Linked DNA regions of Homo sapiens: regions 2, 3, 4, 5, 6 and 7 are each linked to region 1. Evidence: promoter capture Hi-C in 16 types of primary human blood cells and fetal thymus (Javierre and others, 2016). All regions are on one chromosome and are shown on one strand. Each heading gives the region's core, a stretch centred on a gene start or on the middle of the fragment in contact. The rest is flanking DNA. Distances are from core to core; before and after follow the strand shown.

The links. Contacts are between HindIII fragments. The CHiCAGO score rates a contact against its expected background, and 5 or more counts as called.
Region 2: a fragment that was not itself captured here is called in contact with the fragment with the promoter of UHMK1 in region 1 in 1 of 17 cell types (naive CD8 T cells); the score reaches 5.7 in naive CD8 T cells.
Region 3: a fragment that was not itself captured here is called in contact with the fragment with the promoter of UHMK1 in region 1 in 5 of 17 cell types (fetal thymus, non-activated CD4 T cells, naive CD4 T cells and 2 more); the score reaches 9.6 in fetal thymus.
Region 4: the fragment with the promoter of ATF6 here is called in contact with the fragment with the promoter of UHMK1 in region 1 in 4 of 17 cell types (non-activated CD4 T cells, naive CD4 T cells, total CD4 T cells and 1 more); the score reaches 6.9 in non-activated CD4 T cells.
Region 5: a fragment that was not itself captured here is called in contact with the fragment with the promoter of UHMK1 in region 1 in 1 of 17 cell types (M1 macrophages); the score reaches 6.4 in M1 macrophages.
Region 6: a contact is called between a fragment that was not itself captured here and the fragment with the promoter of UHMK1 in region 1, in 1 of 17 cell types (M1 macrophages). The highest score is 5.5, in M1 macrophages.
Region 7: a contact is called between a fragment that was not itself captured here and the fragment with the promoter of UHMK1 in region 1, in 2 of 17 cell types (M1 macrophages and naive CD8 T cells). The highest score is 6.5, in M1 macrophages.

What each region holds. Positions count from the first base shown.
Region 1 is chr1:162,496,153-162,499,915 of GRCh38, reverse strand. It overlaps UHMK1 (U2AF homology motif kinase 1), which reads right to left and starts at 2,098. Exons shown (of 8, transcript NM_175866.5): 1 at 1,648-2,098. The coding sequence starts at 1,915. RefSeq lists enhancers at 1,361-1,861, 2,048-2,127, 1,862-2,362. The HindIII fragment of the contact is 6,861 bases long and covers 1,034-3,763 here.
Region 2 is chr1:163,306,257-163,310,019 of GRCh38, reverse strand. It overlaps LOC127814295 (a long non-coding RNA gene), which reads left to right. Exons shown (of 5, transcript NR_182654.1): 3 at 3,691-3,763. It also overlaps a transcript of RGS5 not described here. Among named protein-coding and RNA genes, the nearest start is that of NUF2, 14 kb to the left of the region's middle. The HindIII fragment of the contact is 4,687 bases long and covers 1-3,763 here.
Region 3 is chr1:161,746,854-161,750,616 of GRCh38, reverse strand. DUSP12 (dual specificity phosphatase 12) reads right to left here and starts at 831. Exons shown (of 6, transcript NM_007240.3): 1 at 472-831. The coding sequence starts at 815. RefSeq lists enhancers at 1-461, 523-1,032, 2,604-2,653, 2,754-2,833. The HindIII fragment of the contact is 1,306 bases long and covers 1,053-2,358 here.
Region 4 is chr1:161,764,506-161,768,268 of GRCh38, reverse strand. It overlaps ATF6 (activating transcription factor 6), which reads right to left and starts at 1,949. Exons shown (of 16, transcript NM_007348.4): 1 at 1,827-1,949. The coding sequence starts at 1,908. It overlaps ATF6-DT (ATF6 divergent transcript), which reads left to right and starts at 2,122. Exons shown (of 3, transcript NR_187280.1): 1 at 2,122-2,439; 2 at 2,768-2,845. LOC124904444 (a long non-coding RNA gene) reads right to left here and starts at 1,820. Exons shown (of 2, transcript XR_007066695.1): 1 at 1,463-1,820. RefSeq lists enhancers at 1,942-2,021, 2,052-2,131, 3,671-3,763. The HindIII fragment of the contact is 8,902 bases long and covers 1-3,763 here.
Region 5 is chr1:161,783,106-161,786,868 of GRCh38, reverse strand. ATF6 (activating transcription factor 6) reads right to left here. Exons shown (of 16, transcript NM_007348.4): 4 at 2,773-2,879. Among named protein-coding and RNA genes, the nearest start is that of ATF6, 19 kb to the right of the region's middle. The HindIII fragment of the contact is 396 bases long and covers 1,544-1,939 here.
Region 6 is chr1:161,799,790-161,803,552 of GRCh38, reverse strand. ATF6 (activating transcription factor 6) reads right to left here. Exons shown (of 16, transcript NM_007348.4): 7 at 1,281-1,501. Among named protein-coding and RNA genes, the nearest start is that of ATF6, 35 kb to the right of the region's middle. The HindIII fragment of the contact is 3,864 bases long and covers 1-3,702 here.
Region 7 is chr1:161,910,686-161,914,448 of GRCh38, reverse strand. It overlaps ATF6 (activating transcription factor 6), which reads right to left. Exons shown (of 16, transcript NM_007348.4): 15 at 2,069-2,153. Among named protein-coding and RNA genes, the nearest start is that of OLFML2B, 110 kb to the left of the region's middle. The HindIII fragment of the contact is 2,384 bases long and covers 613-2,996 here.

The DNA of each region.
Region 1 (3,763 bases), core at 849-3,348:
GAGTAAGTCACTACTAAAGTAGGTAACTGCAGTACAAATTTGAGATAGTCTAGATAAGGATAACTTTGATGAGCAAGCTTCCACTGTAATTTATTTTTCCCATGAATAAGATCTTTTGGCAATTGGGTTATTTTAATAAAAATAAGATGAGACAGCCTACAACAGCTGATTACCATTCACAGATACTAAATATGGTACAATTATTCAATTTGTGTTTCACCAAGTACTCATTGGTGATGAACACGAACTTGGAGTGCCAAGCAAAAATGATTAAAAGTAAAAAACCTAAATATAAATAAATAAAACTTACTGTTGCATCATGAGGTCCTTTAAAAAAAAAGAAATTTTTAAAAGTAAAAACCCAAATATTAAGTAACTCTTTTAAAAGGAATGTCACAATGCGCAAAAACCAAACTAAACATTGCTTCTTCATCCAAAACAGCAGTCTAGGTCTGCCACGGTGGCTCATGCCCGTGATCCCAGCATTCTGAGAGACCGAGGCAGGAGGACTGCTTGAGCCCAGGAGTTTGGAGACCAGCCTGGGTAACAAAAGGGGACCTCTTCTCTACAAAAAATTAGCCAGGCTTGGTGCTACGTGCCTGTAGTCCCAGCTACCTGGGAGGCTGAGGTAGGAGCATGGCTTTAGGAGGAATTGGAGGCTGGAGTGAACTGTGATCTCGCCATTGTACTCCAGCCTGGGTGACAGAGTAAGAACTTGTCTCAAAAAAAAAAACTAAAACAAAAATAAACAGCTCTCTATAATCTAAATACTAACAAAGAGATTAAGACTTTTCGGATGAAATTTTAATCTTGCAGAGATCAGGCAAGTCCCTAGGCTTGCAAAATTTTTCCCTTTTCAATACCAAGGTTATAGTAACAGACCATTTAGTAAACTAAAAAAATGTAGCACTAGTGTTAATTCTTCTCCAAAATGATATTATAAAAAAACTCACTCTTCAAATTAACTATGCATCATACTTGCTAGGAAATAAGACTTTTCTTTAATAACCAAAGCTATAACTAATGATAAGCTTTCTGTCGTGTAATGAAAATGAAACCTTTTCACAGATCAATCATCAGTGATCATTACATATCTTACATTCTGAGTATCTGATTCTTGAAACAGTCTCAAGAGAGCAAAGGTATAGTGTTCCTAAATTTCACACTTCTATAAAGGCTCCCATGGAATAGTGCATCATTTCTTCCAAATCCGTACTAAAGATATAATAGGTGAGCTATACGAGTTACTAGCATTGATGTCACAAGGCCCAGACGTAGTTCCCATTTTCTACTGGTATGCAAAGATTCAAAAATTTCCACACAAGACACGACAATCTAGCAAAGACATGCCTCCTCTCACTAGAAAAGATATTTCTGTATGCTAATGAATGCGGCATTCTCCGATGAGACTCGAAGCAAGACAATTTACTGAGCATCTATGTGACACCTGGCAAAGCAGACCACCAACTCCACTATACCGCAGACAGTAATAAAGTGAAAGGGGAAAGGGGCCTGGATGGGGTGATAAAGAGGGCTAAACCCGCTTCTCCCGCAGAAGGGGAGGAAGATGGAACGCCAGACAGCGAGAGGAAGAGTGTGCTCGGACTGTGACCTGGGCAAGAAGAGAAAGGAGACAGCGGCAATTACCGATGTTTCTGTGACCCTGCAACTGTTCCAGCGCCGCCCTCTCTTTGCGGAAACCATACTCGGCGGCAGAGGCCGCAGCCCCGGTGGTTCCTGGCGGCAAGAACTGCTTGAGGGCGCCGGGGGGCGAGCCAGGGTTGCCGCAGCAGCGAACCCGATACACCGAGGCGGAGGAGCCGCTACCCAGACGGCTCTGTACCTGCCACAGCCGCCCGAAGGCCTCCAGAAAACGCGGCGGCTCCGCGCCCCAGGCGCAGCCGGATCCCGCCATCGGTGTGGGTTAAGGGCACGGACACGGGAGCTGACGCGACGCCTGAGGCAGGCCGGCCGGGCCCGCGGTCACATCTCCGCCAGCCGGACCAGCGGCTCCGCAGGGAGGGACCTGCAGCCGCCTCACCGACTCCCGGGACTTCAAGCAGCCATGACACCGGAAGCCGTGGTGCACCCGAGTCCCAGAAGCCGGAAATGGAGGAAGAGCCTATCATACAGGCCGAAGGAGGGGGGGCTCAGAAGGGGCGGGGCCTAGAAGAGATTAGACGCGCTAGGTTTGGAAAAAAGAACCGAGAATAAGAAGTAACCTTAATTATTGAGTATCTACCATTCCAGGCCCAGTGTTAACCGCTTTCACATAGACCTGAAGCCAAAACTGGTCCTTTTTCTTGTTGAGGCACCTCACCTTACCTCACCACTAGGAACCCGAAAAATAAAACCCGGCCTACATTTCTCATAGAAAGGATCCCAAGGAAAACACCCCAGGAACAAAAAGAGAGTTTACCATCACCTCCAGGTCCACGGTCACCAGAACCCATGATTCTGGAAGCCTAGACCTTTGTTCTTCTTTTAGATGTAAACCGAAAATACAATTCTAAGCCCCCCGTGTCGCCAACCATCGGAATGGACTTTCTCCCAGGCCAGGGCACTCTAAAATTCTGGTTCAGTCCATGACGGGAAGTGGGGGTCCGACTAGCCTCATACCTCTCCGGTTAAGGTCAACACAGACCTTCGGTCTGGTAAGAAACATTTACAATCTATTTTCTTGGAAGCCTGGTACCTGGAGGCTTCATCTGCATGACAAAACTTTGGTCTCCACAAGTTCTTATGACAACCCAGACATTCCTTTCTATTGATAACTCTTTCAACCAATTGCCAATTAGAAAAATTTTAAATCTACCTATAACCTGGAAGGACCCATTTCTCCCCCCACCAATTCCCGCTTCGAGTTTTCCCACCTTTCTGGGCCAAATCAATGTATTTCTTAAATATATTTGATTGAAGTCTCATGTCTCCCAAAATGTATAAAACCAAGCTGCACCCCAACCACCTTGGGTACATGTTCTCAGGATCTCCTGAGGGCTGTGTCACAGACCATGGTCACTCATAGTTGGCTCAGAATAAATCTCTTCAAATATTTTACAGAGTTTAACTCTTTTTATCAACATAGTCCACCTTGCCTATGGCTCCCTCATCAAAAAGCATTCACCCTGGGCAAACACGGATCTGTTCCAAATTTTTATTTTTCATTTATTTATTCAATTATTTTATTCATTCAGCAAACGTTTATTGAGTAACAAATGTAGCAAATAGGCATCTCAATCCACAAACTCGAGTGTGTAAGAAATGTAGCCTTCTTTACTTTTCAGTCATTCAACCTTTTCTATTTCAAGATCTATTCTGATTGTGTGGCAAAAACTTAGTATCAGACAATAGGCCCTATCTTCTTTTCTTCAGGTTTTGTGTAAGTTCCCAGCCAGATGAGATGGTTCATGTAGTGCTAAGTGGAAAGTTTGAGGAGAGGTTGAGGACTAAACTCTGACCTGTCTTCTCTCTTGCTCAATTTTTTTTTTTTTTTTTTTTTTTTTTGGTAAGACGGAGTTTCGCTCTTGTTGCCCAGGCTGGGGTGCAATGGCATGATCTCGGCATCTCCGCCCACCGCAACCTCCTCCTCCTGGGGTCCAGCGATTCTCCTGCCTCAGCCTCCCAAGTAGCTGGAATTACAGGAATTTGCCACCATGCCAGCTAATTTTGTATTTTTAGTAGAGATGAAGTTTCTCCATGTTGGTCAGGCTGGTCTCGAACTCCTGCCCTTGTGATCCGCCTGCCTCACCTTCCCAAAGTGCTG
Region 2 (3,763 bases), core at 864-3,363, 810 kb before region 1:
AAGAGATTTATTTCATATTACTGCTCATTAATAATGTTCCTAGTCACCCAAGAGCCCTGATTGAGATTTACAAGGAGATTAATATTGCTTCTTGCCTGCTAATACAACATCTGTTCTGCAGCCCATGGATCAAGGAATAATTTCAAACTTCAAGTCTTATTATTTGAGAAATATATTTCATAAGGCTAGACCTGCTTCAGTGATTCCTCTTATAGATATGGCAAAGTAAACTGAAAACCTTCTGGAAAGGATTCACCATTCTAGATGCCATTAAGATCATTTGTGATTCATGGGAGGAGGTCAAAATGTCAATTTATTATAATAGGAATTTGGAAGAAGTTAATTCCAGGCCTTATGAATGACTTCATGACTTTAGTGGAGGAAGCACCTGAAGATGTGATGGAAATAGCAAGAGAACTAGAATTAGAAGTGGCACCTGAAGATGTGACTAAATTGCTGCAATATTATAATAAAACTTGAATGGATGACGAGTTGTTTCTTTTGGATAAGAAAAAAAAAAAGGTTTCCTTAGATGGAATCTATTGCTGGTAAAGATTCTCTAAACATTGTTGAAATGACAGCAAAGGATTTAGAATATTACAAAACTTTGTTGATAAAGCAGTGGCAGGGTTTGAGAGTACTGACTCCAATTTTGTAAGAAGTTCTATGGGTACAATGCTATCAAACACCATCACATTCTACAGAGAAATCTTTCATGAAAGGAAAAGTCAACTGATGTGGCCAACTTCATTTGTTGTCTTATTTTAGGAAATTGCTGCAGCCACCTAAACCTTCAGCAACCACCACCCCCGCTTTTTTTTCTGTCACCCAAGTGGGAGTGCAGTGGCACTACCATAGTTCACTGTAACCTCTATCTCCCCAGCTCAAGTGATCCTCCTGCCTCAGCCTCCCAAAGTGCTGGGATTACAGGCATGAACCACTACACCCAGCCTATCAGTCATCACCCTGATCAGTCAGTAGTCATCAATACCAAGGCAAGACCCTCTATAAGCAAAAAGATGATGACTCACTAAAGACTCATATGAGCATTAGCATTTTTTAGCAATAAAGTATTTTTAACTTAGGATTTGTGTATTTTTAGACATAATATTTTTGTACATTTAACAGACTATAGTGTAAACATAACTCTTTATATGCACTGAGAAACCAAAAAATTTGTGTCATTCCCTTTATTGTGATACTCACTTTATTGCAGTGGTGTGGAACTGAACCTGCAATATCTCTGAGGTATGCCTGTACATAATTATGTACTATTTTATATTGGTTTTGAGTCATTTCATGCAGGTAAATTTGATTATCTCAATTAAATTGCAATACCTTTAAAGTCAAAGACTGAGTCTTATTTGGACTTTTTATTCTCATGACAGTGAACTATTGGCATGGCTCAATCCATTGACCTGTTTTGGTTCCTGATGAAGTTTTGTTAATTTAAATGAGAAAAATAAGGACAGTGAAGTAAGTTTTTTATAAAACTAAATTTATTTGGCTTATAAAACAGTTTAATATTATGCCTTTCCTATATTTTTTGTGTTATCTCTTTTTCTAGATGATTATAATAGATGATAATTTTTAAATGTTTCTATTTGTCAAAGTACAACATTGTCCATCCTGTGTCAGTGTCTAACTTTTCCTTGTACTTATTCAAATAATCTCATAGTTGGAACTTATTACTTATTGTGTCACACAATATGCTGGTAAACACTGAAATGGGGAGGGGTTATTTTCATTCTATTTTAGAATGGCACAGTTTCTATGGTATAGTGACTAATCTGAACTAATATGTAAAAGATTAAGATTCACTTGAGAATCATTTTCAAAGAATAACTTTTTTAAATGTAGCACACTGCTGACTTGTGTAAAAATTAAATGTGATACTGAACTTGTTTGAAACTCAAATTTTTGGACCCCACCCACAGACCAACTGAATCAGGATCTCTGGGTTTAGGAACTTTAAACTCACACTTTAAAGTAGTTCTGCAAGTGATTAGGATGCAGATTGTTCATGGAGTTAAGAACAACTGCTATCCTAGCAGGCTGATACAGATGTAAGTTTCTATCTCATTTCTGCCAGTTACTGCTCATTATTTTCTGGATAAGGTTTCTAAACATCTTTAAGTCTCAGTTTATTCTTCTATAAAATATGGTTACTAATAAGGCTGCTGTGGTGAAGTTTAAATGAGATAATGGATATTAAGTAGTGTTACAATGAAGGTGGTCAATAAATATTAATTTACTTCTTTTCTTTCCTTTGAAATTCCGTTGTACTTCAGTGATGAGTAGTATCAAGAATTTCTGATTCATGTACTAGACATTGCTTTTGGCCGCAGATCTCATCACTGAACCAATCATGTGTTACTAAAGCTCCTTTTTTTTTTATTACTCTTAAAGCCAAAGTTATCTCACTTGCCATTAAGTTGCAGAAGTACAGTACTTTCCTAATCCGCACGCTTCTCTGTCTCCCATCCTTAACCGGCATGGGACCCAGTGGAAGGATTAATGGACTAGAAATCTTTTGGGTATTGATTCCTGCTTAGTAAAATGAGGGACTTTTTCTACATGATTTGATATTTCCTTTCTGTTAAAAAAAAAAGTTCTCACTTTCATGTCACACATAAAATTGAGAAGACATTGTTAAGTTCTCCAACTATTTTACCACTTGGCAATGTAGACCCCTAGATTTATGTGGAAGAAAATTATTTCATTTCAGAGAAGAAAATAAGTAGAGGATCTACTAGAATCAATTTTTACTTGACATTGTCATCTCTTTGACTTAGAAGAGGGATGTGGTAGAGAGAGATAGCAGCTAGAGATCTAAGGGCAGGAAAACCATGCTTTGAGGAACCTTATCCCATATCAGAATCTCAGTAGGTCTTCCCTCTGTTTCAGCCCTCACCTCTTATAGGAGTTGTTCCCAAGTGGGAGGGGAGCCCTTTTTATATATTCAGAATATATATAATTCAGAAATTAGGAGATTAGAATTAAGGTATAATGCATCAGTTTGCTAGGGCTGCCATAACAAGTATCACCAACTAGGTAGCTTAAACAACAGAAATTCATTGTCTCACAGTCCTGGAGCCTAGAAGTACTAGATTAAGATATCAGCAAGGTTGATGCCTTCTGAGGGCTGTGAGGATGAATCGGTTTCATGCCTCTCCCTGGCTTCTGGTGGTTTGCTGGCAATCTTTGGCATTCCTTGGCTTGTAGATTTATCACCCCAATATCCTTTATCTTCACATGGCATTCTTGTGTGTATTTTTGTGTCCAAATTTCCTTTTTTTAATAAGGACATTGGTCATATTATATTAGAGTAAGACCCAACCTAATGACCTCAGTTTAACTTGATTTCCTTTACAAAGACCCTATTTACAAATAAGGTCACATTCTGAAGTATTTGGGATTGGGATTTCAACATATCTCTTTTAGAGGACACAATTCAACCCATAAAACATGGCTCACAGCATCATGAGCCAGAGGCCTTCCTGGGCAGGATCTATATAAATAGCCTGATGGCTCAAACCAGGGCAAATATACCAGCTTGCCTCAGAACAAAATGCAATTCCTGGATTTTTACCTCCTTTGAAAACTGAGTACTAATTACTTATTTTTATATTACCAATGCTCTTTGAGTGCAACATGCTGAGTACATGCGATTCATTTTATTTTTCTTAGAAACAGAGCGCTTAAAAAGCACTGTCTGGATATCTTCAGAGGGAAAAAGGAGAAAGTTAACTGAATTGGTGAC
Region 3 (3,763 bases), core at 456-2,955, 750 kb after region 1:
AGGCAAAGCCCAGGGATCCTTTAGATCCAAACCAATTCATCTCTTCATCAACCACCCGCCACCCATCCCAAACAAAAACATTTAACCCTAAATCTTTGTAAATCCCGTTTACAAGACACCAAGCAACCTAATCTGCATTACAATAATCGGGGTGGGTGTCTAGCTTCTCCAACAGAGCTGTAAACTCCTTAGGGTGTAGGTAATTTGTCATTTATCAGATGACACCTCCCCCGCCCTCTGCTGCTGCAGGAAGAACCAACTAAAGCATGAATGAATGAAAGCCTGCACACACCAGGGGCCCGCCTCAACCCTCCTCCTCTCTTGGAAACACGCCTCCTGCGGGAGGCAGCGGGAGGAGGTTCACGCGGCATGACCGCGCTCTTGTCCTCCCGACGGCCTCGGAAGGTAAGGGGCGACGGGGGCCGGCTGGAAGCTTGGCGGGGCACGTCACCCACTGACCCGGCCACTCACCAGTGCACCAACACCGCACGGCCCTCAGCGCGGGCCTGACCGATGAAGGCCACGCACCGGTCCAGATGGCTGAGTAGGTCCGTCTCGGGTTTGTCCAGCGCTGGCACGAAGAGGCGCCATAGATCCTCGACCCCAGGCCCCGCCTTGAAGCTGGGCTCCTCCGAGTCCACTGTTAGCACGGCCGTGATGCCCGCTTCCCTCAGGTGATCTGGCTCCGCGACGGCCGCGGCCCCACCGAAATACAATCCTGGCTGCACTTCCAGCATCTGCCCGGCACAGCTGACTCTGCTGGCGCTGGGGTTGCTGAGCTCGCAGCCATCACTCGGGCCCGGAGCCTCCAACATGGCCGCGCCCAGAGACAAGGCGGCTTCCTGCCCTACCATCGAGTAGACTCCGGCTAGAACATCCTTCCCCTGGGACTCGCCAGCCTCGGCGGCTCTGCTGCTCCCTCGGAGGACCACGTCGGCCGCAGGAATCTGGACTTATCGCTGAGGGGCGGAGCTTCGGCCCCATTCAGCGCGGCCTTTCCACCCTTGTTCCCTCTGACCCCTACCCCCAAAGTTGATGGTGAAGGATAAGCTTCCCCAAATACAGGGTTTCTCGAGCTCTTAGTATTGAAATTTTCAGGAAAGAGACATCAGGAGCAGCTGAACTCAAATGTGAAATAAATGTCGCACCAGCTGAATCAGAAGCATCATTTTATGCATTTGAAGTAAAATTTTTTTCAATATTATGGAGCCATCTTTACTGTGCATTTCATGATTATTTTTCCTTTTTCTGCCCAATTTCATTATTGGGGTGTGAATCCTTGTTGATGTTTACTGTCTATTTATTTTGAAGATACTAATCCTATATTTTTGTAAGTCAATGTCCTCCGGCCAGGACTACAAGAAACCAACTTTAATTAAGCAAGTTGGTTTTATTACTCAGTCATGAGTTATGGAGAATTTCAGGGCATCTCAGCACGAGGATGTTAGGAAGATCCTCTACAGATTTTGGGCTTTTATTTGGGGATTTTGGAAAGGGTTGAAGGAAGCAGGCTTTGCTCCAGACTGAATGCTGCAGGAAGATACTCAGTACAGTGAGTATATTTTATATATCTTTTGTATAGGGAGGACAGGTGAGAGAGATACTAAAGCTGTAATTGGTCAAGAAGTAGCAGCTATAGTACTGGTATAAAGATAGATACATCGACGTGTCTCTATTCTGGAACAGAACAAACCCTTGCGTGTGGAGTCCTAATTAGGGAAAAGGAGTCAGGCTGGCTGGACGAAGGGAAGCAAAAGGAGAAAGCAGACAAGCCATAAGTCTGCCTTTCTTCGTGGTCCAGGACACATAGCCCTGCTGTGCAAATAACTCACAATCTGCCTGTGCCCAGCCATCACCAGACCCTCAGCTGATAGAAAAATGGAAGTTAGTTCACTGCAACCCTGGCATTATTAGTACTGCACAAAGCCCTCTTCCACCCACAACATAAGCACCATTCTACAAAATCCCCAGCAAGCCTTTGTTTCCTAGCAGTCAGCTTCTCTCTTGCTGACCTGCCTGTTGCACCCTTGCAATGTATTTTCATACTTTATCTAATAAACCTGCCTTTCTTTACCTACAACTGTGTTGGTAAATTCTTCCTACCACCCATGTCACCAGCCCAGAAAGCTGCTAATCACCTGCAACACTGCATATATGTTAGAATAATCTTCAAAAAGAGTGCCAAGACCACACAATGGAAAAAGGACAATCTCCTCAACAGTGTTGGGAAAAACTAGATATCCACATGCAAAAGAATGAAGATGGACCTTTACCTTGGACCATACACAAAAAATAACTCCAAATAGATTAAAGACCTAAAAATATAACATTCTTAGTAGAAAACATAGGGGGAAAGCTTCATGGCCTTGGATTTGATAAAAATGTTGAAACAGGTAAGGGTTAATGGTCTCATTGTCTAAGGTGTTATCCGAACTTGTCTAACGACCGAGAAAACTAAGGAGCATGGGCACAAAGAGTGAGGTTGAAGCAAAAGTTTAATAAGCAAAAGAAGAAAGCTCTCCACAGCAGAGAGGGGAGCCCAAGTGGGGTGCCATTTTTACAGCTGAATTCAAAACCTATTATAAGAAACTCCTCTCATCTCTATAGTTGTTTGAGTAACTTCTCTTATGAATAAATCTGTCTGTGCAACTTCCCTTATCTTCTGCCGATGTGGGTATGTCTCTAGGCAAGCACAAAGCGTGGGTTCTCTTGTTTGTATCACTGTAGGTTTGTTTTAGGTAAGCCCCCCTCCTTCCTGTGCAAGTTCCCACGGAGTCCACTGTGTATATACCTGAAAAGGGGAGGAAAGTTTTTCCTGGGAGCTCGCCAATTACACGAAGAATGAAAAGCGTCTGTGCTGGACCCTACCTGCTTATCTGTGCAGGTGCAGCCTGAGTTTTGCCTAAGCTGCTCTATTTTGTTTGTAGCTGTGATTTTTCAGGCAGACTGCTTCTCCAAGGGCTAGCCTTAGCTGTCTACCTAACTGATTTTTCCTTTTCTTCTCCCTCAATTTTTTGGATAAAATACCAAAAGCACAGGCAACAAAAGCGAAAATAGACAAATGGGACTATATCAAATTTTAAAGTGTCTGCATATCAAGCAAAACAGTCAATAGAGAGAAAAGGAATTTGTATGGAATGGGAAAAAATAATTGCAAAGCATATATCTGATACGTTAATATGCAGAACATATAAAAAACTCCTACAACTCGACAACAGAAAAACAAGTAACCCAATTTTCAAAAAACTGGGCAAACGACCTGAATAGACATTCCTCCAAAGAAGATATACAAGAGGCCAAAAAGCATAGGAAAAGATGCTCAAATTGCTAATCATTAGAGAAATGCAAATCAAAACTACAATAATAATATCATCTTACACCCATTAGGATGGCTAGTATTTTTTTCAAGCACAGAAAATAAGTGTTAGCAAGGATGTGGAAAAATTGGAACGCTTATGCATTGCTGAAGGGAATGTAAAATGGTGCACCCACCAGGGAAAACAGTACGGAGTTTCCTCAAACGATTAAAAATAGAATTACCACATGATCCAGCAATCTCACTTCTAGGTTATATAGCCAAAAGAATTGAAAGTGGGATCTCAAAGATATTTGCACACCCATATTTATGGCAACATTATTCACAATAGCAAAAAGGTAGAAGTAACCCAAATGTCCATCATGGATTAATGGATAAAGAAAATGTGGTATGGGCCGGGCGCGGTGGCTCACGTCTGTAATCCTAGCACTTTGGGAGGCCGAGGCA
Region 4 (3,763 bases), core at 700-3,199, 730 kb after region 1:
AACATTAAGTCAAGTGATCAGATAAGTCTGGAAAATGCAGCCTGGGTATCAGAAGACGACATAAAATTATGCTACCAGGAAGTGTCCCACAGTTATACTTTAAGAAATGTCACTGGCCGGGCACAGTGGCTCACACCCGTAATCCCAGCACTTTGGGAGGCCGAGGTGGGCGGATCACCTGAGGTCCAGAGCTCCAGACCAGCCTAACCAACATGGAGAAACCTCGTCTCTACTAAAAATACAAAATTAGCCGGGCGTGGTGGTGCATGCCTGTAATCCCAGCTACTCGGGAGGCTGAGGCAGGAGAATCGCTCAAACCCGAGTGGCGGAGGTTGCGGTGAGCCAAGATTGCGCCATTACACTCTAGCCTGGGCAACAAAAGCGAAACTCCATCTCAAAAAAAGAGGTAAAGAAAAGAAATGTCATGAAAATATAATAGCTGACTAGCTGACAAAATAAATCATAACTACCCAATATATTCAAGTAGTCTTATTAATAACCAGGGATCTTAGGAAGAATAAAATCTGTAGACATGAGTTAGGAAAGCATTATAGAATAGATGCTAGGGGTACAGACTTTGGAGGTAGAAAAACCTGGTCTGATCCTTCTTCTGCCACTAACTAGCTCTAAGAATCTGAGCACAAATTCTGTTAGCCTCAGTTTCCTCATCTCTAAAATAAACAGTACCTCATTGGACTGTTGGTAGGATTAAACAAAATACTTCATGTCAAGAGTTTAACAGGGTCCCTGACACAAAGAGCTAAATAAATGGTTACTGTCACTAATGCATTTGGCTTGGGAAAATGGGAATAAAAAATCTTAAGTTTTCCAGCAACTCTTAAAAAATCTACCCAAGGATTAAAATAAATCTCCAATAGAATATAGTTTTAGAGAACATCTGTCCTTGAAACAATTAAATGACTTTGTTCAATAAAAAGTTGAGATTCCTTCCACTCCTGCTATTGAGAATGCTGATCCAAGGGAGAAAGATAAACTGGGTTCCCCCCAGTTCCAAGGCTGATGAGTGGTGTAGGCTCACTAGCGGGCCCATTTGGGAACCTACACAATCCCAAATTCATATTGGAACCTAAGAACAATATTACTATTATATCTTGCAATCAAGAGGAGAATAAAAGTCTCCTCTAAATACTTAGATAACAAAGTTTCTTCATTCTCATTTCCACTTCATCCCATTCCACCCTTCCTGACCACCAAAACCAAACAAAATATCCATTAACAAGAAAATTAAGAGCTGTATCTGGAGAGCAGTCAGGATTACACCATAAGTATTAGGTGTAGCTAAGCAGGGACCCGAGGTCAGGTGCTTGGGTGTTTTGCTTTTCTGCCAAGACGGACATCAGGCTTAAACCAATAGTAAAAGCTGTAAGATTAGAATTTCTTGTATATAACCACATTCTCTCATATACACCAAACACACAAAAACCCACTCCATTGTGCTCACCGCCCACATTTCACACTCAGGAAATAGCTTGTAGCCTTTTTGGCGGTCCCAGCCATTTTGCTCTAAACCTCCTAAAGACGTCCAGTGTTAGCCACACAAAAAGATCACCCGGTACTTCCCCAGTGGGAATAGTGAAAAACGACAGTTAACTCCAGTTAGACAATATTCTACTCTCCCTGTGGCCAGGACAGAAGCCGAACGATACTCCCAGACTCTTCCAGGGGCACGAACAGGAGTGACGAGGGGCCTCACTCCCCAGGCAGGGTTGGTCCACACCTGTCACCACGAGTGGGCGGAAGTAGGGAGGAAGAAACCTTTAGACGCGAACCCGAGCCACCCTGGTACATTCTCAGATCCCACTCACCCCAATCTTCATCCAGCCTGTGAAAGAGTCCCGGGCTAAAAGGTGACTCCATGGTGCCGGCAACCCCAGCCGGCTCCCCCATTTCACAAGTTCCTTCTCCCTGGAACTCCGTGATTAATATCTGGGACGGCGGCGGCAGGCGGACAAAATACTCCGTAACGCTGACGAGACGGTGGCCTAGTAAAGACAAACTACTTTTGCCGCACGAGGGATTTGTACGACACAGGAAAACGTCAGAGACTAAGCAAATTTGAATAGACCTCTGAGTAAATATTTCCCTTTTGGAGTTTTCAGGACTTTCTGTCCCGCTGTTTTATGGGGAAGGCGGGGGAAGACACGCAGACATCAATTCGACTAAACAAAGTTTATCAATAATATTAAAAATAAAAAGTAAAGCCCCTTTCTGAACATTATGGCTTATTCCTTGATTATCCTTCTTAATGCCACAGCGTGGCTATCTCAGAACAAAATTAGAGACTAACAGTAAATTTACTTTAATTTTTACGAATAATTCTCTATCAATGTAAAAATTTTTCATATACGCGTGTATGAAAGAAAAACACTACTATTTTTCCACATTCGTGAAAACTGCTTAACTGGGACAGTAACCGAGGTAAGTGGTACTATAAAACATACTTCTAGAAAGACTACTTTTATTTAAATAAATTGAAACAAAGCAAATATAAAAAGATAAACCCCCCAAATTTATCTCCTAAAGATAAATTTCTAAAGCATAGTATTTAGTCAAAGTCCAAGCGAGTCTACCCTAAGACCTACAGTAATCGAAGTTCCCAATATTTGTATTACTAAAGATTCGGGTTTTATTTAAAGGAAAATCACATACATCACGAACTCCAACTGAAAATATGAACTGAGTTTGATAAAGCAGTTTCAAGAACGCTACTTAAGAGAATTTCTTTTTCATCCATTTTAAATTTCAGCGGCCAGTGAATATTTAAAATACTGTAACCGACGAATACGTATGCTTCTAGGACCACGTGGAATCTTTCCCATGGTAGGTAAGCAAAACAAATGTGCTTCCCAGAACCCTCCAAACTGCTCGTGGGTATATTACTACAGATTACATAATGCAGCAGCGTTCCGGGACGCAAGCCCAGAAAAAGATAATTAAATCCCCTTACGTCAGATGTAACTACTTTTGTCATTAGAAAACTAATAAATTTTCACTTAAGGTGAAATTTATAACACTTTAATTCTCACCCAATTACAAATTCAAAAATTGACATAAAAAACTAAAATAAGGCCGGGCGCGGTGGCTCACGCCTGTAATCCCAGCACTTTGGGAGGCCGAGGCGGGCGGATCACGAGGTCAGGAGTTCGAGACCAGCCTGGCCAACATAGTGAAACCCTGTCTCCACTAAAAATACAAAAAGTTAGCCAGGCGTGGTGGCGGGCAAGTAGCTGTAATCCCAGCTACTCGGGAGGCTGAGGCAGGAGAATCGCATGAACGCGGGAGGCAGAGGTTGCAGCGAGCGGAGATCGCACCACTGCACACCAGCCTGGTCGACATTGCGAGACTGCGTCTCAAAAAAAAAAAAAAAAAAAAAACCTAAAATAAAATAAAATCATCGAGTCTTCTGTATCCCACTAGACACCTTAGTCTTTTAAGAAAATCACCATGACAAATCGCCAATTTTTTTAATTTCCAAAAGATTTTATTTTTATTCAAAAAGTGCAAGTAATTATGAAACAAACATTTGTGACCTATCACCAAGAATTTAAAAATTTAACATTTTTCATTTTTGTCCCAGATTTTTCATAAGAAATTAAATACTACAGAATTGAATTCCTCTTTCCTCCCTGCTTCATTTTCCTCCCTTGGCGTAGGCCACTTCTACCATGAATTTTATGGGTATAAAATTTTATTTTATAAAAATAAAAGTGTAATTCTAGTCCACTTTTATTTTTAGTTTTAC
Region 5 (3,763 bases), core at 492-2,991, 710 kb after region 1:
TGGGTCCTTTTGATAGTCTAAAGGACACCTCTGGGATGTCTGGCACAATTTAAACGAGAGCTGAAGGTTAGATTATAGTAACATATTAATGTTTATTTCCCGATTTTGTGCTTGTATTATGGCTAAGAAATATCTGTGCTTGTAGGAAGTAGACACTAAAGTATTGGAGTGATAGGGGCATCGGACTGGTAACTTACTCTGAAATGCATAAGGAAAAAACAAGTTATTTGCAAGGTACTCACAACACTTCTGTGAATTTGAGATTGTTCCAAACAAAAAATTAACATAAGCAAAAAAAAAGAGTAAAAATATGAGTGAATTATTTTATAACCTCTCAGTGGTGAAAACCTTCCTTTGAGTGAACAAAAAAGCAATTAAAGAAAAGATCAATAATTTGGCTATAGAAAACAGTACACCTGGGGAAAAATAAACACCAGAAATAAAGCAAAGAGACAAAAGAAAAATTGGGGAAAAAATATTTGCAGCTTATTTCACAAACTAAGGACTAATAATCCTAATATATAATAAAGCACCTAAAATATTAAAGAGAAAAAGACCAATACAATTCAATTAAAAAATGAACGGCCGGGCGCAGTGTCTCACACCTGTAATCCCAAGCACTTTGGGGGGCCGAGGCAGGTGGATAACCTGAGGTCAGAAGTTCGAGACCAGCCTGGCCAACATGGTGAAACCCTGTCTCTACTAAAAATACAAAAATTAGCCGGGTGTGGTGGCAGGTGCCTGTAATCCCTGTAATCCCAGGTACTCGGGAGGCTGAGGAGGCAGGAGAATTGCTTGAAGCCAGGAGGCGGAGGTTGCAGTGAGCCGAGATCATGCCATTGCACCCCAGCCTGGTAGACAAGAGAGAGAGTTCATCTCCAAAAAAAAAAAAAGAACAAAAATTTGAAATGACAGTTCATTTTTTAAAAAGAAATGCAAATAGGCCTTAAACATATAAAACATATGAATAGATATTATTTAACCATACTTATAATAAAAGAGATATAAAACAAAACCTATTGTGGAGTGATGATGGGAAAACAGGCCCTCTTACATACTGCTGATGAGGATGTAAAATTTTACAACCCCTATAGAGAGAAATTTGGCAGTATCTAGCAAAATTCAAGTGTATTTACCTTGGTGTCAACAATCCCACCTCTTGAAATATATCCCAAAAATATCCTGGTAAAAATATAAAGTGACTTATGTACCAGGTTATTTACTATAGGTTATTTGAGTCTGGAAAAGACTTATGTACAGGTTAATTGGGTCTGGAAAAGACTAAAAACAACACAAATACTCATCAATAAGGAAATCACTAAATTAAGCATGATAAGGCCATGCAATGAAACATTATGTAGCATAATGGGAAAATTATATACTCTGAAATTAAGAGTTATCCTGCTAAGCTAAAAAAACAAGGTACAGGACAGGGTATACAGTATGCTACCTTTTGTAATTATTAATTTTTTAAAAAATTAAATCATTTGGAGAAATTGTGGGACCTCAGAGAGCTACCAATAGCAGCAATCAGAGAAAAGCTTCATAAAGGAAGTAGTTTTTGAACTGGGACTTGAAGGATGAGTTTTCCAAGACAAGAAAAAAATGGGGCTATTCTAGGCAGAAGAAAGAGGATGTGCAAAAACCTAGAACTGTAACAGCAGCAATCTCACTGCTGTTGTTCACTGCCAGCATCTGGAACAGTGCCTGGCACAGCGGTTGAATGAGTAGAGTGCATAGGAGCTCTCAGAGAGGAACTCTCACAGGGCTCAAATTAAGGGGAATGTGGAAGTAGGAGGGGATAGCAAGAAAAGAGACTGGAAAAGTAAATGGGGGCCAGATCATGGAAAGCCTAGTACTCTGGGAATTTAAATTTCATCCTTGTAAGGACTGGGAAGTTACTAAAAAGTTTTAAGCAAATGACTGATACAGTAAAGCTTGTGACACTGAAAGATTTCTCTTTGAAGATTCCACTGCTAAGAAAGGTTTGAGGAGTTGTAAGGCTGACCAGTTAAAATCCTATTGACTTAATCCAGGTGAGATAGTGATGGCCTGGCAGGGGCAGAAAAGATAAATCCTTGAATTAATATGTGCATATAACCACCAGGATTTAGTAACTAAATGTAGAGCCTGCAGGAACAAAGATACCACAATTTATAGCACATATAATATACTAAAATATTATTTGATTTTTTTATTCTTATACTTTCCCTTTCCCCATTCTAAAAAGTACCTAAATCAGGTACTTCCTTTTCCTGGCCTCAGGGCTTTTGTCTGGACACAGAGCAGAAGTGTTCTTAAAAGAGCTACCAGACTTCTATAAAAACGTGAGCCCCTTCAAAAGGTAGCACTAGGCATTCCCAAACTAAGGCAATCATTCTAGATGCTGTGACTAAAGAGATATAAAAACTGACCATCTTACATTCTTCTATGTCCATATATAAAGAATGTATATCCTAATAGGGAGGAGAAAGAAAGGGTGGGAGAAAGGACAGTAAGCCAATAAACAAATACTGGATACTGTTAAAATGCAATGAAACAAATGAAACAATGAAATTATGGAGGCATGAACAGAGGGGAAAAGAGAGCAAAACCAAAGGCACTAACAACTTTCTAGCTCCCACAAGGCTCTTTCTTGAGTCTCAGTTCCCTCAATAAATGAGACAATATAACTCATAGTAGTATTCAATAAATGTTAACTGCCTCCTCCATATACATATTTTCCAGATAGCATATTATAACCAAAATCATTGTAAAAGACTGGCTACTCACAGGAACATGCTGAGTTGAAGAATAAGAGTCCACTGACCGAGGAGACGAGACTGAATAACTTGAGGAGGCTGGAGAAAGTGGCTGAGGTTCTGCCTTAATATCTTTAACTGGAAAACATGGAGGAAAGGTTTTACCCACTGGACAATAAAAACTTATAATAAAATGAACAAGAAAGAAGGTAAAATCTACTTTTAAAATTCAATCAGATATGGAAGCTAAGGTCACCAAAATATAACGAGTGAAAATGAAAGATGCAGAAAACAATATATCTAGTATGTTTCCACTTGTGTTACAAATTATATATATATGTGGGGAGGGGGTATATATGTATGTCTGTGTGTGTGTGTATATATATGTGTACACTTGCATCTGCACTAATTCTCTGGAAGGGTAAACAGAAGAAACTGGTAACAGTGGTTGTCTCTGGAAAATAGAACTTGTTGGCTGAGGAATAAAAGCAGGAGACATTTTTCTACTATACAGATTTTTGTACCTTTTGAATATTTTACCATATGCAAAATATTATAGCTTCCCAAAAAATTTAAAAAAATAAGAAACAGGAAATATTTTGGAAAGCATTTTTGACAATACAATTCAAACTCATAAAAAATGTTCATATCTTTTAAACTATTAATTTATCCTATAAAAATGTACTGAGCAACTATGGCCCAGGCAGTATCCCTTGGTGTCAAAGATAGAATAGGGTGGGGATGGCAGACTGTGTTTTCCAAAATTAGCCATACGATATCTACCATCCTTCATGATCTTCCCTCATGATCTTCTACAATGTGATCTTGCCACTTTCCCACCAAGAAGTAGAGTCGATTTCCCCTCCCCAAGAATTTAGGTGGGCTTGACTCCTTCAATCAAGAGAAGATAGAAGTAATGCTATGTGAATTCTGAAGCTGGAAATGCAGCCTCTGCTTTGTGTGCTGGAACACTCATACTTGGAGCCTTTGAAGTCTGACTACCCTGAGACCACCATGACTGA
Region 6 (3,763 bases), core at 521-3,020, 700 kb after region 1:
TCATCTTCAACTGAAACACACGCTATGTATTAGAGCCTATTATGCCATAAGCATTGTGCTTACCTCTTCTAGTCCTCAAAACAAACCAACATAACAGTCAAGCCTAATCCTGTACTGTCCATGGTCTCTAGTCTCATAGCAACACTAATTTTCCTATTCCATGTCTTGACATGCATTGTTTTCAATACCTATACAAACGATGGGACTCTTATTCTAGAAACTGGATGTTCTACTTTCACCAGACAATATTCCTTTGTTATGAATTTTTACAATATTGCTGGCTGAGATTACTGTTTATGCAACTGTGGAGCAATTTTATAATTAAATGGGTCACTGACATGCTGGTTAATAAATTCTGGCAGACAGATCAGACAGTAGTCTGATAAACAACCTTGCATAACCCACAGGATTTTAAAATTACTTTTCAAATGCATTCTACCTAAAGAAAGGATGAAGTAGTAATATTAACAACTAGTAGTATCCATTTTTATTTTAAAGAAAACATACACACTTTGCTTTCCCAATCGTAACTTTAGAGAATCCACTGTTTGACTATATAGCTTTAACATTCATTAAATTTTAGGACCAAGATGTTCAATTTAATACATAAGTTATTTCCAATCATTTTGAAAGAAAGCAAGAGTTAGTTGGCAAGTGCAGTAACTGGCTTTAGAGAGTGACAGGTCTTAGGAAACTATGTGATTTATAAATTATAAGAAATCCCTACAACATGCTAGAAAATTTAAAGGTTTGCAAAAATGGGAAAGTACCAAATAATCACTAAGAGACAGAATTCCTAAGAGTAGCTAGTCATCATTATGAAGTGGTGAAAATACTTCAAAACGGCAAGGAAGAAAGCTAAATATAAAACCTACCTAAAAAGTAATCTATAGACTCTTATCTGAAGATCGCTAAAACATTTCAATCAGGAAACGTTGAATCTGTAAAATATTAGTGGATGACTGGGTTGAGGGTGTAAGGGCTTGAAGAGAATAATAAGAGGGTTGGTTCTAAAGAAGGAGTAAAGAAGAGGGAGGTATGCATACTTTGCTTTTCATCAAACCACTTCACTTTCAAAAACCTTTTCACTTAGATTCTAACGTAGTAAGCCTTACCCTAATTTTCCTCCAAAGACTAGATGTGCAATTCAGCACACTCTTTTATTTGATGCAATATAAGAAACTCTAAAAAAAACAAAAACAAGGCAACAAAAGCAAAAGGTGTTTTTTTGTTGGTTTTTAAATCAGGCATTAAGAGAAGCACTAAGTTTCAAAACTTACATCTGAACCGACATTTCTCATGGTACTTTGTAGGACAGGTTTAGTCACGGAAAGTTTTCCATTCACTGGGCTATTCGCTGAAGGGGCTGGTACCACATTCACCACGTGATTAGGGAGCTGTGTGACTCCCCCAGCAACAGCAAGGACTGGCTGAGCAGAGGGCAGAACTCCAGGTGCTTGAAGTTGTACCACAGTAGGCTGAGACAGCAAAACCGTCTGGCCTGCGTTAGAAAAAAGAAAAGGAATCAAAGGGTACACAACTACTGTGGCAGGGGAAGCAGCTTATAATTAGGTCTTTTCTGCAGACGTAATGGGTAAGATCAACACCAAGGGATTGGACACCATCAATTAAAACATTGGATCAATAGCAGCACACGCTTATGGTGACTTTGTTATGTTTTTAATGTGACCAACTAAATTCATCTCTTTGAGTTATCATTAACAATATACTTTAATATACTTTCTTATTTATCTTTCTCAACTAAACAGCTATCAAATTTGCTGTAATCCCTAGATTTCTAAGAATTAACCTCTGAAATTTATTAGTGCTAAAAGGATTTGTCTTATTATAAATAACAAATCTTTTACACTGAATATGGAGAGTCATGTATTCTAAATTAATAGGATTTACAAATGCATACAATACCAAAAATATCTGAACATAAACTTAGTAACTCAATATTAGAAGAAGAAGGAGCTACAGGCCATGCACTGTGGCTTACACCTGTAATCCCAGTGCTTTGGGAGGCCAGCAGTTTGAGACCAGCCAAGGCAACATAGTGATAGCCTGTCTCTACAAAAAAAAATTTAAAAATTAGCCAGGTATGGTGGTATGTGCCTCGAGTCTTAGCTACTCAGGAGGCTGAGGCAGGCAGATCCCTAAAAAGGACAAAAAAAAAAAAAAAAAAAAAAAGACTACAAATACCAAAAAACTTAAAACCATTTGAGATTAAATCTTAGCTAACAATCACGGTAAACATAAATCTGTGATTCAAAATAGTCTGTAGATGATACCAGCCCTTTCCCTCTTCCCCCAAAAATGGCCTTCAATTCTTTTCTGAGTATTCAGAGGTATCATTATTTTAAATTTATGCTAATCTGACGAGAATTATTAGAGGTTGAACATCCTTAATCCAAAAACCCAAAATCCAAAATGCTCCAAAATCCAAAACTTTTTGAGTGCTGACACAACTTCACAAGTGGAAAACTCCACACTTCTGGTCCTAAGTATTTTGGATAAGGGATACTCAATCTATAATAATGACAATGAAGATGATGCTGTTAACGCTGCAGAAAAAGTGCCTATAGATGACATGGTAAAAATGTGTGATGGGCCTAGTGAAGGACTAAAGCAGCATACAGTCATAACAGAAAAAGAAATCATGTCAGTTTACAAAATCAAAAAGAGACTTCTAAAACAAAAACTTGTTAATGAGGCAGATGACTCCATAGAAAACATTTTTAGAAGTCATCCAGCAGAATGCCTCCTCATCCCTAGAGGACCCACTTCCAGTCTCTCAACTGCTTCTGATGTTTCTTCTCACCTGAAGACATAAAATAGAGGGTACAGTAGGCTTTTAATGAAAACAGCATCAAAGGCAGAGACTGAAAGCTGCCATTTTTTGTTGTTGCTGTTGTGTAGTAGCTGACACTGGTATTCTGGTGATTCTACTGTCCTGCCTTGTTACTCTGCACACATTATTTTTTCACTGTATTAATGGTATGTCATAATTTTTGTTAAGTTCTTAGGTGTGAATTTGTGAATAAGTGTAAGAAAATGATTGCTTGTCAGTAGCATATGAATTCAGAGCCAGGAATGATGGTGGTGCCAAACAACTACAGATTGTCCACAGGAGATAGTGACAACTGTGCTTTCTGATGGTTCACTGTATGCAAACTTGGTTTCATGCAGAGAATTATTTAAAATATTATATAAAATTACCTTCAGGCTATGTGTATGAGATATACATGAAACATAAATGAATTTCATGTTAGACTTGGGTTCTGTCCCCAAGATATCTCATTATGTATATGCAAATATTCTAAAATCCAAAAGTACCCAAAATCTGAAACACTTCTGGTTCCAAGCATTTCATTTAAGGGGTACTAAACCTGTACCATTAACCTAAAGACTTATACAACTCATAACACTAATCTATTAAAAATTTTACTTGCCTGCTAAGTGTTTCCTTTCAGATCTGGCAGATTTTTATAAGGTGCTGAAAGCCTTGCCTAACATCCACAGCTGCTTGAGCCTATCTAACAAAATGAAGGTACTAAAATAACTGGCAACTAAAATATCATGTAAATTTATAATTTGTTTAAGAAAAAAAAAGCATTATGCTTTCAGACAGGTTGACCCATGTAAAACTCAGCTCAATATTTCAAAGGATCGGGGAAAACTAAAAATCAAAATAAAGCTTCAGAACACCTGTTTGTCAAGAACATCTGTCTTGGCTAAAAAAGATAACTTATAAAAGCAA
Region 7 (3,763 bases), core at 555-3,054, 590 kb after region 1:
AGAGGCAGTGGAGGAGTCGTCAGTGAAGGTGGAGTAGACGGCAGCAACAAATAAGGGTTAGAGGAGTAAAGTGTGATGTGACAGATTTGCAAGATGTTAAGGGGACTGAAGGAGAAATAATTTGAAAGTTGTAGTGGGAAGCAAGGATACCACCTGCCCTGCTGCAGACTTTGAGGTACATGAGGAAGGGGAAAAAATCAGGCTCTAATTTAAGAAGTATCCTCAGAGCAAGACTGTTAAGAGAAAAGGCTGAGGATGTAGCATGGTACTTGAAACACGGTATATATTCAATCAATATTTCTTGAATTTGAATTTTGATTTTTTAATAGGACTTATCCTAAAAAGGGAAGTTTTTAAAAAGACTATTTACAAAGAGTCTGAAACAGATTAAAAAGACAATGATCCTCTAATGACTGGATTTTTCCAAATCCATGAAAGGCTCCTCTTCAAAAATCAGTCACCTGGCCAAGATAAACATAGTCAAACAGCATCTTGTTGGTTTTGGCTTAATATAAAGATAGCTCACTGTTACAAAATAAGACCAGGCATTCTCTTGCATAAGAACCCAATATCAGAAGAACAAAATTAAGTGAATTCTGCCTTGATAAAGCTTAGAAAATAGCCTTTCTGAGCATAAGCTGACCCTTTGGTCTATTCTAGTTTAGGCAGAGAAACTTAGGTACCTATAGATTGAGTATAAGTGAGACTTCCTAAATACATTCTTTGGAATGTAATAAAATGCACTTTGGAATATATTCTTCTTCAGGTAGTAAATGATTATTCCATGAGTAACTTCAAAGGTATGTCTTTACTGAAGAAAGAGATGTTCTTCTCAATGTTACTGTTTTTCTTAAACTTATTCTGAATGTCTTTGTAAGGCTAAGTAAATATTGTAATTTTTATGCTTTAACAAAAAGCCCATTTATGTTTATGTCTATGAAGTTACTTCCTAAGCATTTCTAATAAGCTGTCTATATACAGATCATGAAATTCTAAGGTCCTCTATGGTCTTAAAATGTATGATGAATACCACTTTTCCCCTAAAGACTAAATTTTATTGAAACTTATCTGGAATCCCCCCAAAATTCTAGTGTTTTGTTTTATAATTGTATTTGAAGGTTTAATTATATTTATCAATCAAAATGTGAACTGGTTCGACTGCAGGTTAGTTCAAAGGGCTTTTCGTTTCCATCTTCTTCATATACTGAGGTTTTTGCTACCAGACAGAAAATTTACTAGTACCTACATTATGTGAGATACACAAACTTGAAAAAGATGGCCAACTCTCCGATTTTCAATATAATGTGTCAGAGAAAGCAATTAGTCAATAACATACACTGTGCTCATTTATAATCCACAACTGGTAATGGGAGTGAGTTATTTCACTTCTCCATGAAGAATCAAGCTGAAAGTAATCTCTTTTCACTAGATTTCTTAGTACCTCACATATTACTTACGTGACTTTCTCTTTGGAGTACAGTGATTTTTGTGCTTGTCTTTTTTTTTCTTCTAAACTATAAGCAGGTATATTATGCCTTAACATCTGTGCATTATATTATTATTTGTATTTTGTTTAATGTCCAGGGCTAGTAATATAACAAAATGCAATAGTAATACTATCAGTGTCAAACTCATCAGTATTATCAATTAAACATAAACAGGCTTCTGTGGCATGGTCTAGGATGATATCAACATTTAGGTAACACAGGAAACTGCTTTGAGTTCCAAAAATCTAATTTACAAATTCACTGTCAGAACACAGCAGGGGCTTCTTACACTACATTTATGACTAGAAGGGTCGCAGATGCAAGTCTGTAGAGCAGTCAAGATGCTAGCTTTTCCAATTTTGTAAGTAAAAGAAAGCTACTTTTTCTTTTAGGGATGTAGTAATTTTTTTTAAAAGAATAATGGATCTTAAAAATAATAAAACAGTGGAAAAATGTTTCAGAAATAATGTACGGATATATACTCATTTAACTGAACATTTTAAATGTCTTTGAACTAATGAAGAGAATCCTGGTTAAACAAAGAAATCTCATATTGTTCATACATCAGAATTTCAACTTACCATTTATGTTTATTGCTGGTAACACAATTGACATTTTTGGTCTTGTGGTCTTGTTATGGGTGGTAGCTGGTAACAGCAGGTGATCCTAAAATTAACAAAGAACAATCTGTTATATATAACAATTGGCTTAGTCCTAGAACAGGCCAAATTCAGGGCTTCTAAGAGGTCAATATTTCGTTGGGATGATGAAAAATTATAGTTTTTATTTGAAGTTGGCTTAATTAACTACAAACCAGCTTAGAATCATTCATTCATTAATGTAATACACATTTACAGAGTGTCTACCGTTGTCAGGCACTATGCAGTGATCTTGGAAAACTCCTAGGTTTTTACAACACATATGCTGTAGCACCACTATAAAGAATACTGGTCAAGCAGTCAAGACAAGGGATTTTAATTCTAATTCTGCCACTAAATAGCTGTATAATCTGGACAAGACTACGTATCCTTTCTGTGTTTCAGTTTCCAGTCCTGTAAAATGATGGGGGCTAGACTAGATAATGTCACAAGATACTGAGAGTATCTCCCCTAAACAGTCATTCTCAAACTTTTTTTTTAAAGGCAATAAACTCTTTTTCCCATCAAAATTCTTATCCCAGGAATTTTCTATCTGTAGAAGAAAGAAATTATCAACATGTACAAGAAAGATTCTGACTGAAGCAGGGCCAAGGCCTAGAGCCTTGCCTGCTTAGCCTCCTCTTCTCCCTTTGAAGGGACCACAGAATTAGACATTTATTTGCAAGTGACAGGTGCATGCTAAAGAAGTTGTACAGTTTTTGCCCTTAAAAAGCACACAGTTTGGTAGAAGAGTTAAAGAATTATAAATACATGCCTAGCACAATTGTATAGTCCTACACTGTGCAGGGCATCTGAGGTTTCTAATTTCCAGCACACAAGTACTAAAAGTAAGAATAAGCCAAGAGAAGCTTGGCTTCAGAAAAGGCAGAGTATAAGTGTTTTGAAAAATGTATATACATCTGTAGGCATTCTAAGGCTGATTATAAATGACTTATGACTTTGATATTAACTACTGTTTTCAGTAACTCCTCTTCTTCCTAGCAAAAACATATGAACTGTTACAGAAAAAAGAAAAAAAGAAGTATATTAGCATTTCCATTTAAGGGAGCATGGTTAAACTGGAGATAAAACTAAACCTAAGTTTGATGCATTTTGCTTTCTTTTCTTGTTCCTGTGTTCATTGTTTCACCATTCATTCAACAAACTTACTATATGAAATAACTCATCAAAAAGTAGGATCTGATACAGCTGAGAGCAATAAAAATTCAACACAACTTCAAAGTTCAAAGTTGATATGATTATGAAGTGTGATTATCAGCAAAACTAAGAAAAAAATCTAAAAAGTGAAAAACAAATTGAAATTGATATACATGAACAGAACTGTGTAGAAAACATTTCCAGTAACTGCTTGTATTTTGTGTAATTCAAGGCAACATTTCCATGAGAACATGTTTTTAAAAATTGGGGAGGAGAGAGAAGATGAGTAAATTCTGTTAGAATTCCAGCATTGCAGCAAGGGAATTTTTTGTTTTGTTTTTTTAAGTGCATTGTTAGACACAAAGATCACACATTTCTGATTAAGATAACATTATAACCAAGAAAAAACAGAATTTGCTGATCTTCAAGCCATGAAAGTTATACATAGCTTAATTCCTATCATTAAAATACTGCTTCAGG